Linked DNA regions of Homo sapiens: regions 2 and 3 are each linked to region 1. The links are contacts of gene promoters, found by promoter capture Hi-C in blood cells and fetal thymus (Javierre and others, 2016). All regions are on one chromosome and are shown on one strand. The core of a region is centred on a gene start or on the middle of the fragment in contact, and the rest is flanking DNA. Distances in the headings are between cores, read along the strand shown.

Evidence for each region. The method cuts DNA at HindIII sites, captures the fragments that hold promoters and counts their contacts. A CHiCAGO score of 5 or more calls a contact.
Region 2: the fragment with the promoter of NPTXR here is called in contact with a fragment that was not itself captured in region 1 in 1 of 17 cell types (erythroblasts); the score reaches 6.8 in erythroblasts.
Region 3: the fragment with the promoter of DNAL4 here is called in contact with a fragment that was not itself captured in region 1 in 1 of 17 cell types (erythroblasts); the score reaches 6.0 in erythroblasts.

Annotation. Positions count from the first base shown.
Region 1 is chr22:39,235,865-39,239,614 of GRCh38, forward strand. It overlaps PDGFB (platelet derived growth factor subunit B), which reads right to left. Exons shown (of 7, transcript NM_002608.4): 2 at 1-10. Among named protein-coding and RNA genes, the nearest start is that of PDGFB, 7.2 kb to the right of the region's middle. RefSeq lists enhancers at 461-1,355, 1,356-2,250. The HindIII fragment of the contact is 2,070 bases long and covers 645-2,714 here.
Region 2 is chr22:38,842,187-38,846,220 of GRCh38, forward strand. NPTXR (neuronal pentraxin receptor) reads right to left here and starts at 1,842. Exons shown (of 5, transcript NM_014293.4): 1 at 1,049-1,842. The coding sequence starts at 1,672. RefSeq lists a silencer at 1,361-1,430. The HindIII fragment of the contact is 8,819 bases long and covers 1-4,034 here.
Region 3 is chr22:38,791,965-38,795,643 of GRCh38, forward strand. It overlaps DNAL4 (dynein axonemal light chain 4), which reads right to left and starts at 2,179. Exons shown (of 4, transcript NM_005740.3): 1 at 2,104-2,179. RefSeq lists a silencer at 1,921-2,370. The HindIII fragment of the contact is 6,501 bases long and covers 285-3,679 here.

The DNA.
Region 1 (3,750 bases), core at 430-2,929:
TGGGGTCCCCCTGCCGGGCAGACACCAAAAGGCTGAGTGAGCTGGGAGTGGGGGCTTTCCAGCATGGCTGTCTCCCCCACCACACGCTTTCTCGCTTTCTCCTGTGGAAAGCTCCAAGGTCACAGGGAGACGGACAGGCAGGATCCAGGCCTGATGATCAGGAGCACAAAGGCCTCGGGGCCTGGACCTGCCGAAGCCTCTGAGACCCAGCTCAGTCCCTGCACCCTCAACCCCCAACAGGAACCCCAGCTTGCTTTGAGTTGGACCTGCTTGTCTCTATGTCTGTCTCCCCCACCAAACTACATGTTCTGGGAATGCACCAAAATCTGATTTCTCCCTGAGTCTCACAACACACCTGACAGCTGAAGACAGCCAGCATCTCCCATGGCCAATCTAACCCCCATTTTACAGAGGGGAAAACAAACGTTCAAAGAGAGGCTCAATTATTGGCAAAAGCTGCATTCAAACCCATGCCTTTGGGATGACAGAGCCTGTACTCCCAGGCTCCTGGGTACAAGAGGTGCTTAATAAACGCGTGCAGAGTGCGATGGCCTCAGGAGGCCCCAGGTCCTAGCGGTATCTATGAAGTCTCTCACTCGAAAGAGGCGAAAAGGGAATCCTCGGACACGGCCGGGAAACCTGAAAGCTTACCCGTGCCCTGTGCCCAACCAAACCCTATTTTTAGAGCCCCTTTGGCCTGTTGCCAAACATACTCGAAACCTGATAACACTTCAACAGGCCTCATTCGGAGCTGGGCTTCCTCCAGGGAAACCGCAGGTCCCACAATGACACAAGAGCAGCCCCGTAGGAAGGTCACAGCCACGTCCCCCACAGTCCCAGGAGACCCAAGGGGCGGATGCCAGAGATCCCAAGAAAGAGGCGAGGGCAGATGGGAGACTGAGAATCACAATCCAGACCACCAGCCACTGAGAAGCAAAGAAAATTCCTAAGATGTCGCTGCACGTTCAAAGGCTGGAACCGGACTTCCACGTGTGCAAACACACACGTGCAGGCACAGGCACTCGGGCTGCACGGTCTGGACAGACAGTCCTGGAGAGGGCATCAATAGGCTTGGCACATTACTATAGAACCTTGGGTTAAACTATTTTCTGCCTCAGTTTCCCTGGATTAAGAAGGGAGGACTTCCCTTCTTGGTTCGCTCCACATTCCCGGAGCCGAAGGTCGGGGGGCTCAGAGGGGGTCGGTGCAGGCTACCTTCACAAAAGGGATGCTGCTTTCTCGCTGCCTGACGGCGGAGGGGGAGCGAGGGAGAGGAGAAGAGGTCGTCTCAGCCCTGTGGCCAGCCTCAGGGGGCTCTCCCCGAAAGCTCTGTTTCCTCCAGCTTATCATGAGGTCTAGCAACACCTCCAGGGGTTCATCCATGACCAACTCTGGCCACCCACATCGATCCAGGAGCCAGAAGACTCAGGGCGGGGGGTGGGGGTGACCACTTTTAAAGCTACATCATTCCCTGAAACCCCTGAGTCTCCATGTCTTTGTTTGAACATGGAGCTTACAACTCCGCCCAATGTCTAAGGGCTGCTGGGCAACTTGAGGAAAAAAAGGTGGCAGGGCTTGGCTGAGAACTAGGGTCTTTCCTTCAATATCCGGGCAGCCAGGGGCTGCACGTGCAAGACAGAGGAGGGTATGGGCCCCGCTGCCCCTCACTTTCGGCCCCATCTCCTCCGGGCTCTGCCTCCTCCCGCCCTCAAGCAAGTTCATTCTTTCCACCTCAGAAGAGAGACCACGCCTCCGGTGCTCTCCAAATGTTGACAAAGTACCCAACCCACAGAACAGAGGGCTTGGTCTCCAGTGAACACCAGCGAAAGCCGCTTCCCCTGAGAGTTCTGTCAAACCCAGAACTGGCAGGCCAGAGAGCTGAATCCCACGCCTTTGGACCAACTGCCGTGTGACCTCGGCTGGTCACTGCCCCTATGGTCCTGGCTCTCATCTGTGAATCGAGGGGCTTGAAGAACATTCGATTCAATTCTAATTCTGCCAGGAGGCGTTAGAAGGGGCAGAGAAAACGCCAAAGCCGGGTGCCTAGCCAGGCCTCCCTGGATCACTGGCAGAAGGAGAACAAGAAGCGTTTGTGGAGTAAAGATTCAATTAACCCCCCAGGGGAGGGGCCCAAAGGCCTAGTAGCAAATGGCATTTAGTGCTTGTGCCAAGATCTCCCTGCCCACTGGAGAGCCGGCTGCAGCTGCCAGCCACGGCAGAGGAGGCAGACCCCTGAACAGGCCGAGTGGACACCCCAGATCCAGGCCCACGACACATAGGAGATGCCCCTCCAAGGCTGAGTGTGAAAGAGCCCAGGATAGGGTCTGAGGAGGAGAGAGAGGCACATAGTAGGTCCTCGGTAAATACTGGTCAAATGCATGAAGGAGTCTACCATTTTCCAGGTTCTGTCCAGTATGATTCTTCTGCCTCCTCCACCAGGAGGGCCACCTGGGATATTCTTCCCCAACCCTAGGCAAATGAGCAACTAGAGTCCCTTTTAATCTGAGCAGGGAGACCGTCCCTGAAGATGCTTTTGGTAATGTGGCCACTAGATGCCCAGAACTACCCATAAGCCCCCGGATTTGGTAATAATACCACAACTAACATCTATGAATGCCAGCTACAAGCCACACGCTGAGAAAAACACCGTATAAACTACCAATCCTAAGAGGCTGGCAGTATTTGTATCCCCATCCTCCAGATGAGAACACTGAAGCTTAGAAAAAATTAAACAAGCAGCAACAGGTCCAGACAATTAGCAAGTGGCAGAGCTGGGTCGTTCCCAGGCTCCAGACTGCCCACCTGTTCCAGCCCACCATGGGGCGTCTCAGCCTCCCTCTCCTGTGTTCTAAGGCCACTGGCCCTCAGCATCACACAAGGTTCGTGTTGGCTCTTTACTCTGCAGCATGTCCCACGTCAGAGGCTCTCAACCAGGGCCCAGTGGGCCCCCAGGGGACAGTGGCAATGTATGAAGGCATCGCTGGTGGCCACAACTTGGGGTGTGCACTGCATCTTAAGTTGGGGGAGGCCGGGGATGCCGCTCACCACCCTTCAGGGCACAGGACGGCCTTCCCAAACATCAGGAGTGCAGAGGCTGAGAAACCCTGTAGCGGAGGAAAGAGCAAGGGCTCCAGATGCCAGGGCAACCTGGATTCTTGGAATCTTGTCACAATCTAAAACCTCGGCTTCTGCATCTTTTAAATGGGGCTAATAATACCTCGCCCGGGGTTACTGGGAGGCATAATTGCACAGAGCAGAGCTGCCAGCAGATAATGGGAGCTTAATGAGTTGTCACTGTCATCATCATTAATTCTTTCCGGATGGCTCCTTTGTGGGCAGCAGCGAGTGGCACACGTGCTCAGGGCCAGCAGCACAGGACATTTTTGAGGATGACAAGGAGTGGGTGGAGAGCTGCCTGCCCATGAAAGAGTGCGTGACTTTGCATTATCCCTTGTGCTGGGCCACAGGAAATGGTACCCTACCTCCACACTGGCAGAGCCTGGGCCGTGTGGGCTTACAAGGCCCTTCCGGGGCTGGGGGTGGGTGAGGGTGGGGGGACACTCAGCACGTGCTCAGCTCCAGGATGCAATGCTCTGGGGATGACGAGCATGAGCACCTGTTGGGAGTCACAGGCTCTTCTTGGTATGGGAAGGTGAGCCGCCCGGAGCCTGGTTTTCCTGGGCACAGGTTCCGCAGGCCTCCAGGTGGACAGCTCACTTCAGAGATGGGAAAGGAGGCCTGGCACCCTGA
Region 2 (4,034 bases), core at 592-3,091, 390 kb before region 1:
TCCTCCCTCCAACTTGCCTGCTGCACTCCACCTGGGTGGAGGTAGCAGAGGGGGCAGCGCGGGCTTTGGCCTCTTTCTCTCTCTTCCTTCCACAGATCTGATTTTGTTGCTTAACCCCCTTCCTTGTGGTCTGGAAGTCAGGCCATGGCTGGGGTAGTGAATGTGTCCCGGATGTTTGTCCTGCCCAGTCTGTCTGCCTTGCACTTCTGGGAGCCCCAAATTCATTCTTACAGGGAGGAAGGTGGCCATGGGACTCCAGGGGGGAAATGACTGGCCCAGGGTCACATGAGAGCCAAGAGTGGGTTCCCCCATGCTGGACCCCTTGTGTCTGACCCCAAGCCTGAGTCAGGAAAGCCTGGAAAAGTGAGTGGAGGAGGAGGAGCTCGGGGGGCCCTGTTCTCCATTCAGCCCCCACCCAAGAGCTGTGGGCTTCCAGGTGTGTGAGGCTGGGCGCCTGGCACCTGAGCTCCTGCGGTTTGGGTCATAGTCTGAGCCAGAGTGGGAGATTCAGGGTAGGGAGGTGGTGAGGGGCACCCAGGTTTGTCTTATAGGGCACTCTGTTCCCGGCTCTGTGTAATGAGGGGAGGACCCCAAGTCCTTTGGACAGCGCATCCATCTCCTGGCCATAAAGTGTGAGCGTGGAGCTGGGCTGATTTGGGGGTGTCCGGAAGAAGGAAATGAAAGGGACATTTAATGAGGTCCTAGTACGTGCCAAGCATTTTCACACACCTACATTTGATTCAATTTCCACTACAAGTGGACACTGTTATACCTATTTTACAGACACAGAAACTGAGGCTCAGAGAGGTGCCTGGAGACGGAAAAGGGTGGGGAGCGAATCTTTCTGGCGCGCCCTCTGTGCCTCAGTCACCGTGCCAGACGCCTGCCCGCGTTCCCTATCGAAATCCCCCCGCCTCGCCAGCGAGGAAGGCGCGATCGTCCCCGGAACACAGACGGGAGACCGGAGGCTCGGGGACCGCCGGACGACCGCGGCCGGGCGGCCCCTCACACCACCCGGGCGGCTCCCCCGACGGCGCGCGGCGCTCACCTCCAGGCGGTCGATGCGGTCCCGCAGGGCGCGCACGGCGTCCTCCAGCTCCAGAATGAGCGCAGGCGAGTCCCAGGGCCCGTCGGCCATGGTGTCGCGGCGGGGCCCGGCGCCCTGGAGGCCGCGCGGCAGGCCGCTCTCGCAGCGGCCCAGCTTGCCGGTGAGCTCACGGATGGTGTCCTGGTCGGCGCGGATGCGCGCCTCCTGCTGCAGCGCCGTCTGGCGCAGCTGCTCGGCCGTGCTCTGCAGCAGCAGCAGCTCTTCGCGCTCGCCCGGCGCAGCGCCCGCCGCGTCCCCCTGCTGGGCCCCCGACGGGCAGGCAGCAGCCAGCGGCGTGCACAGGAAGCGGCTGAACAGGGGCCCGGGCGGCAGCGGGTGCGCGCTGGCCGCGGGTGCCCCGGGCAGCGCGGGGGGCCCGGCTGAACCGCCCGCGCCGTGCAGCGCGCTCAGGCTCCGCTGCGGGCCCGGGGACGCGGCGGCGCCCGAGGCGACCGAAGCATTGTCGGCGCCGCCGGGCAGCGCCCGCGCCGGGCTGGCCGCCAGGGGCACGCTGGCGATGATGCAGATGACGGCACCGAGGAACGCCAGCATGCCCGCGGCCAGCAGCACGGCCAGGAACTTCAGCGTGAGGCGGGCGGCGGGGGCGCCCGAGGCCCCCGGCAGGCGCGGCGGCGGGGTCGGGGCGCGGAGCCCGGGCGCGCTGGGCCGAGCGGGGCAGGCGCGGGAGCCGGAGCCGGAGCCGGAGCCGGAGCCGGAGCTGGAGCTGTCGCCGCGGCCGCTGCTGCCGCCGCTCTGAGCCCGGGCGGCGGGAGGAGGAGAAGACGGCAGGCGGCGGGGAGGGGGAGCGGGCGCGGCGGCCCCGCCCCACTCGCTTCCCCGGGCCGGCCCTGGCCCCGGCCCAGCCCCGCACCCGTTCAGTGCCGGGCGCCCGGCTGGGGGCGCCGCCGGGGATGCGGCGAGGAGCGAGGGCAGCGCCTGGGACCTTATCTCGCCGCGGTCACAGCGCAGGGGCCGGCGACCCGAGGGCCGCGCGGCGGGGCTCCTGGGTGACCCCCATCCCAGCCCTCCCGTGCTCGGGCCCCCTCCCCAAGCCGGTTATGTTCACATCCACCCGGGAGGGAGCTTTCTTCCGGGTGGGGCTGTGCACTGGGCGCGCCACAAGCTCGGTCGCAATTGAGCCTTGCCGTGGACAGGCTCACAATAGAAATGAGGAAACTGAGACACCTGAGGTCAGGCCTCTGTCCAAGGTCACCGGGTGGCTGCGTTGGAGCCGCCTGCGAGCTTAGGCACGTTTCACCGGACCAGACTGTGGATGGGGCTGGAGTGGGAGCGGTTAGAGGTGGAGAAGAGGCCAGTGTTGGGGGTTGGGGGGAGGCTCGGATTTTGACCTAACTTCTGTTTATACTGTGGCCACCTGCCCGTCACCCCCACCTCCAACCTTCTGAAGGAGCAGAGTTCACTCCCCGCCACCCTCATTACAGAATCTTCCTGTGATCTCAGAGGATGATGGAAATTCTCTCCTCTGAATCCTTGGGGGCTTAGAGCCTCACAGGTCCAGAGAAACCCCCCACCCCCACTGCAGTCTGCCTTCGTTGGCAAGCGGTGCCACGTGCCTGGTGGGCATGTGGACCAGGCCCAGAAGGAACAGCAGGAATGGGAGTGGGCTGTGCTGTGGGGGTGGCAGAGGAGCGTTTTACTTTCTTCTGTCAAAAATGTCTATATATATTTTGTTGAAAATTAACTTTGCAATTAAAAACTTAAAAACAATCCTACTATCCTCCACACTTTATCCCCAGCTCCAATTTTCCATGAGGTCTTTCCTGACCAATACGGATTCCCAGGGCTGGAAGGGCCTTGGGAGGGCTGTGGTTATTCCCAGCTCTGTCTCCCTTCCAAGCCTGCATTTTTGACTTGAAGGGAAAGCGCAAACCAGGATCTCTGGACCACCACGGCTACCACTGTGGTTTCGAGTGTACTTCACATAGCGCTGGTGGTGGGGAGAGACCGGAATGTTTCCCAGGAAGCCACAACCCTGGGGGACGCTCTCCAGCCACGGGGATTTTGTCCAGTGTTCCCAGGCACACGTGCTCCACCTCCCTCTCTCCACACATGTTAGGATGATGTCCACCCTGTTCACCCATCTCTAGGAGCCAGGGATTTTCATCCATACCTGAGTTGTGAAAGAGGAGAGAAGCAAACACAAGCGCTGTATGCCAGGAACCTGAGTGCTGTGTGTGCGTGGATGTGTGCTGGTGCTCACTGAAGTCGTAACCTCAAAACCCAGGGCAGGCAGCTGGGCTTGGAGGAAGCATCTCATGGACAGAGAGATGGGCTGGGCTCTTGGAAGGCAAAGGCCAGCGGTAGGCCCTGCTAAAGTCCTGGGGATGCATGAGACATCGGGACTCCTGGTACATCTACACGTGTGCCGTGAAGACAGAAACACGGAGATAGCATCCCCAGGAGAAACTGTCATAGGAAGTCCAGGGAAGGACAGGAGATGCCAAGAGAGAGGGCTGCTGCCAAGAGCAGCAGAGCCACTGTGACTTGGGCACCAAATGGTGCCACCTTTACCTGAGCTGCCCCCTGAGACTTTGGGGACAGTTTGGATAAATGGGTCCAGAGGCTGGAGTCAAATTGTGTTTAAACTGGTCTGTTGATCTCCTAGAATGACTTTATTTTTTATTTTATTTTATTTTTGAGACAGAGTCTTGCTCTGTCACCCAGGCTGCAGTGCGGTGGCGTGATCTCGGCTCACTGGAACCTCTGCCTTGCGGGTTCAAGCAATTCTCCTGCCTCAGTCTCCCAAGTAGCTGGGACTACAGGTGCACGCCACCACGCCCAGCTAATTTTTGTATTTTTAGTAGAGATGGAGTTTCAATATGTTGGCCAGGCTGGTCTTGAACTCCTGACCTCAGGTGATCCACCTGCCTCGGCCTCCCAAAGTGCTGGGATTACAGGCGTGAGCCATGGCGCCCAGCCTCTCCCT
Region 3 (3,679 bases), core at 929-3,428, 440 kb before region 1:
AAAGTGCTGGCATTACAGGTGTGAGCCACCATGCCTGGCCACTACTGTAACTTTATTTATAAACACCGTAAAAAATTTACGTAAATTTAGGCTGCACTAAATTTATAGAAAATATTTTTCTTTCTTCCATAATAAGTTAACCTTAGCTTACTGTAACTTTTTACTTTGTAAAAGTTTTGATTTTGTTAACTTTTTGACTCTTTCGTAGTAACACTTAGCTTAAAACACAAACACATTGTACAGCTATACAAAAATATTTTCTTTCTTTATATCTTTATTCTATAAGCTTTTTTCTACTTATAAATTTTCTATTTCTTTTTTACTTTTTTTTTTTTGAGACAAAGTTTTACTCTTGTTGCCCAGGCTTGAGCGCAATGGCGCTATCTCGGCGCACTGAAACCTCCACCTCCCGGGTTCACGCCATTCTCCTGTCTCAGCCTCCTGAGTAGCTGGGATTACAGGTGCCCGCTACCACGTCTGGCTAATTTTTTGTATTTTTAGTAGGGACAGGTTTTACCATGTTGGCCAGGCTAGTCTCAAACTCTTGACCTCAGGTGATCTGCCTGTGTCGGCCTCCCGAAGTGCTGGGATTAATAGGCGTGAGCCACCGCTCCTGGCCTTTATTTTTTATTTTTAACATTTTTAACTTTTTTGTTAAAACTCAGACACAGATACACTAGCCTAAGCCTACACAGGGTCAGGATGCTTAGTGTCACTATCTTCCACTACCACATCTTGTCCCGCTGGACGGTCTTCAGGGCAATAACACGCATGGAGCTGTCATCTCCTATGATAACAAAGCCTTTTGCTTGAATACCTCCTGAAGGACCTATCTAAGACTGTTTACGGTTAAATTTTATTTTCTTATAAGTAGGAGGAGTGTACACTGTAAAATAACAATAAAAGTGTAGGATAGTAAACACATAAACAAGTAACAGTCATTTATTACCATTATCAAGTATGATGTCCTGTACACAATTGTATGTGCTATATTTTATATGACTGGCAGCACTGTAGGTTTGCTTACACCAGCATCACCACACACGTGAGTCATGCATTTTGCTTTGACATTACGATAGCTATGTAACTAGGTGATAGAAATTTGTCAGCTCCATTATAACCTTAGGGCACCACCGTGGTATCTGTGGTCTTTCTTGACCAAAACGTTGTTATATGGTACATGACTGTATTTCAATCTCCATCTGTCCCCTCCCCACCCCTAAGTAACCCTAACCATGGAAGCCCAGGAGGAAGATCAGAGAGGGTCAACTGGAGAAATGACAGTTCATGCTGACCGGGTTGATAACATTTCCCAGAGAGGGAAAATGTGGTGAAGAGACAAAGGAAAGAAACTAACAAATACTGAATCTATACTGGACTGGACTCTGTACTTCATATTAGCCTCAGAATTACCAAAGGAGATGCACCGACGTATACTGATTTTACATATGCACTGATTAAAAGCGCAGGGAGGGTAGGTCTTGAGACTGGGAATCCAAATTAGGTTTGCCAAGTTATTTTCACAATACACGATACCTCCCATTGGGGAGCACATCCTCTCGGAAGCCTAAAGTTGGGTCAAAGAACAACGACATCCTAGAACGTCAGAGTGGAAGAGGCCTTAGAGATCACTCAACTCAACTTCTCATTTACAGATGGGGAAACTGAGGCCCAAACAGGGGAAATGACCAGCCCAGAATCCCAGTAAGTCGCCAACTCTCCAAGCCAAGAGCGGTCTGACCTAGTTGATGGCGACCCCGCGGGAGAGGGAATTACTCCGCGAAAGGTCGAGGGATCAAGGTGCTGGGGGAAGTCGGCTAAAGGGGGACGCGGGACCACGAAGCTGGGCAGGCCTTGGGTGGGTGGGGAAGAGCAGCCGGCAGAGTCGCGATGGCAAACCTGTCACGACAGAGCTCGCAGGTCCCGAAGTGGGGGTGAGGGTGGGGGTTGAGGATGGGAAGACCTGGGGCAGGGGAACAGCAGGCAGGAGACCGAGGTGGGGCCTCGGCGGCGGGCGAGGCCTCTTCCGCCCTGCGTTGCCTCCCGCCCTCCCTCCGGGCCGGCCCTCCCCGCCTGGCTGCCCGCCGCGCCCCGGGGCCTCACCTGCTCCTGCGGGGGCCGGAGCCGGGGCCGCAGCCAGCGAACCCCCGCCAGGGTTGTCAAGGAGCGAAACAAGAGTGTCTTAGCAACCAGCAAGGAAGTCCTGCCCCCTCACCGGACGTTGACGAGAATTTCACTTATTATTGGTGGATAAAAGTATCAATCAGAGTGAAAGGCCCTTATAAGTCAGGCGTTTGCAAGGACAGGGGCGTGGTTTAGAGGCCAGGGAGGCGGGACTTCACTTATAGTTGTCTTAAGCGTGCCCGAGGAGCAGGGGACACATTGAAGTTCTTTTTCTAGGGAAACAAACTTCGAAAAGCAGTACTGCCTTGGGAGGTTCTTTTAGTCACTTGAAATAACAAATGCAACTTGTTGGTGTCGTGACACTTAGCCACTACTTTATTGGGATCTGAAAAGCCTGATAATAACTAGCATTTTTGTAGGGCTGTACAATTAATATCTCACTTGATTCTCATTACAGTACTTTTAGGTGATAATATTCGTCATCCCATCTGAACTAAAGTTCAGAGAGGTTAAGTAACTTGGTAAAGGATGGAGGTAATCTCCCTGGAGAAGGAACCCAGGGGCTCCTTCCTCTGTGCCACACCCTTGTATGGTCACCTAGCTCTAGTCACTAGGAGACATTTGTACCACCTAATTTCAGACACAGTTGCCCAGAGCCTGCCTTTTCTTCCCCTTGGGAGGGAAAATTAATCCGAAAGTACGGAGAAGGAAAAGGGGAAAGGGGAAGAACTGGCGGATTCTATTATTTGATTGGTAGATCAAAGGGTCAGTTGGGTACTTCGTAGTTTAAACCTTTATTATTGTGATGAGTACTTGGGGTGAAACCCCACTGCCACATTTACTAGCATTGAAGCTGTCTTTGCCAAAATTATAACTGAGGAAATTATGACAGTGAAAGAGATCAGACCTAACCCACTCCATCTTGCCTTTCTAGCCTTTAAGCTGTCTTTGTTCATTCCTAGGCATAGGCTGAACGAACCTTGGGAAGGAATTTAGTTTATAGTTTTACTCTGAAACAAAATTGACAATAGCCCTTTCCCAAAAAGGCTCCCTTCCTGCCTTGGGACCAGTCTGCCTTTGTAGGACTAACAAATTAGCTACAACATTAGAAATTATGGTTTAGGGGTCACACAGCAGCCTCTGGCTGCAAGAGTCTGAACCTTCCCAAATTGCTCCTGGGGATAACATCACTATTGTAAAACCTAAGATCAGCGCTTGAGATATTTTGCAGACCCTGCGCTCGATGGATCAGCTGACACCACCCAGACCAGTAATGTGGCTCAAACAGTTCTGTGATCCCACCCAGGAACAGAAGACAGCAAGAAAACCTCACTTCGACCCCCTCAGTATTCCATCTTCGACTTAATCAATCAACACTCCTCGCTTGCCAAGCCCCTACCCACAAAATTATCTTTAAAACCTCTGATCCCTGAATGCTTGGGTAGCATATTCAACTGCCTCCTAGCCATGTGCACCAGAATGTTCCACAAGCCCTTCAAACTCAGTGTGTCCCAAACTGAATTGATCATCTCCCTCCAATCTGCTCTTCCTGCAT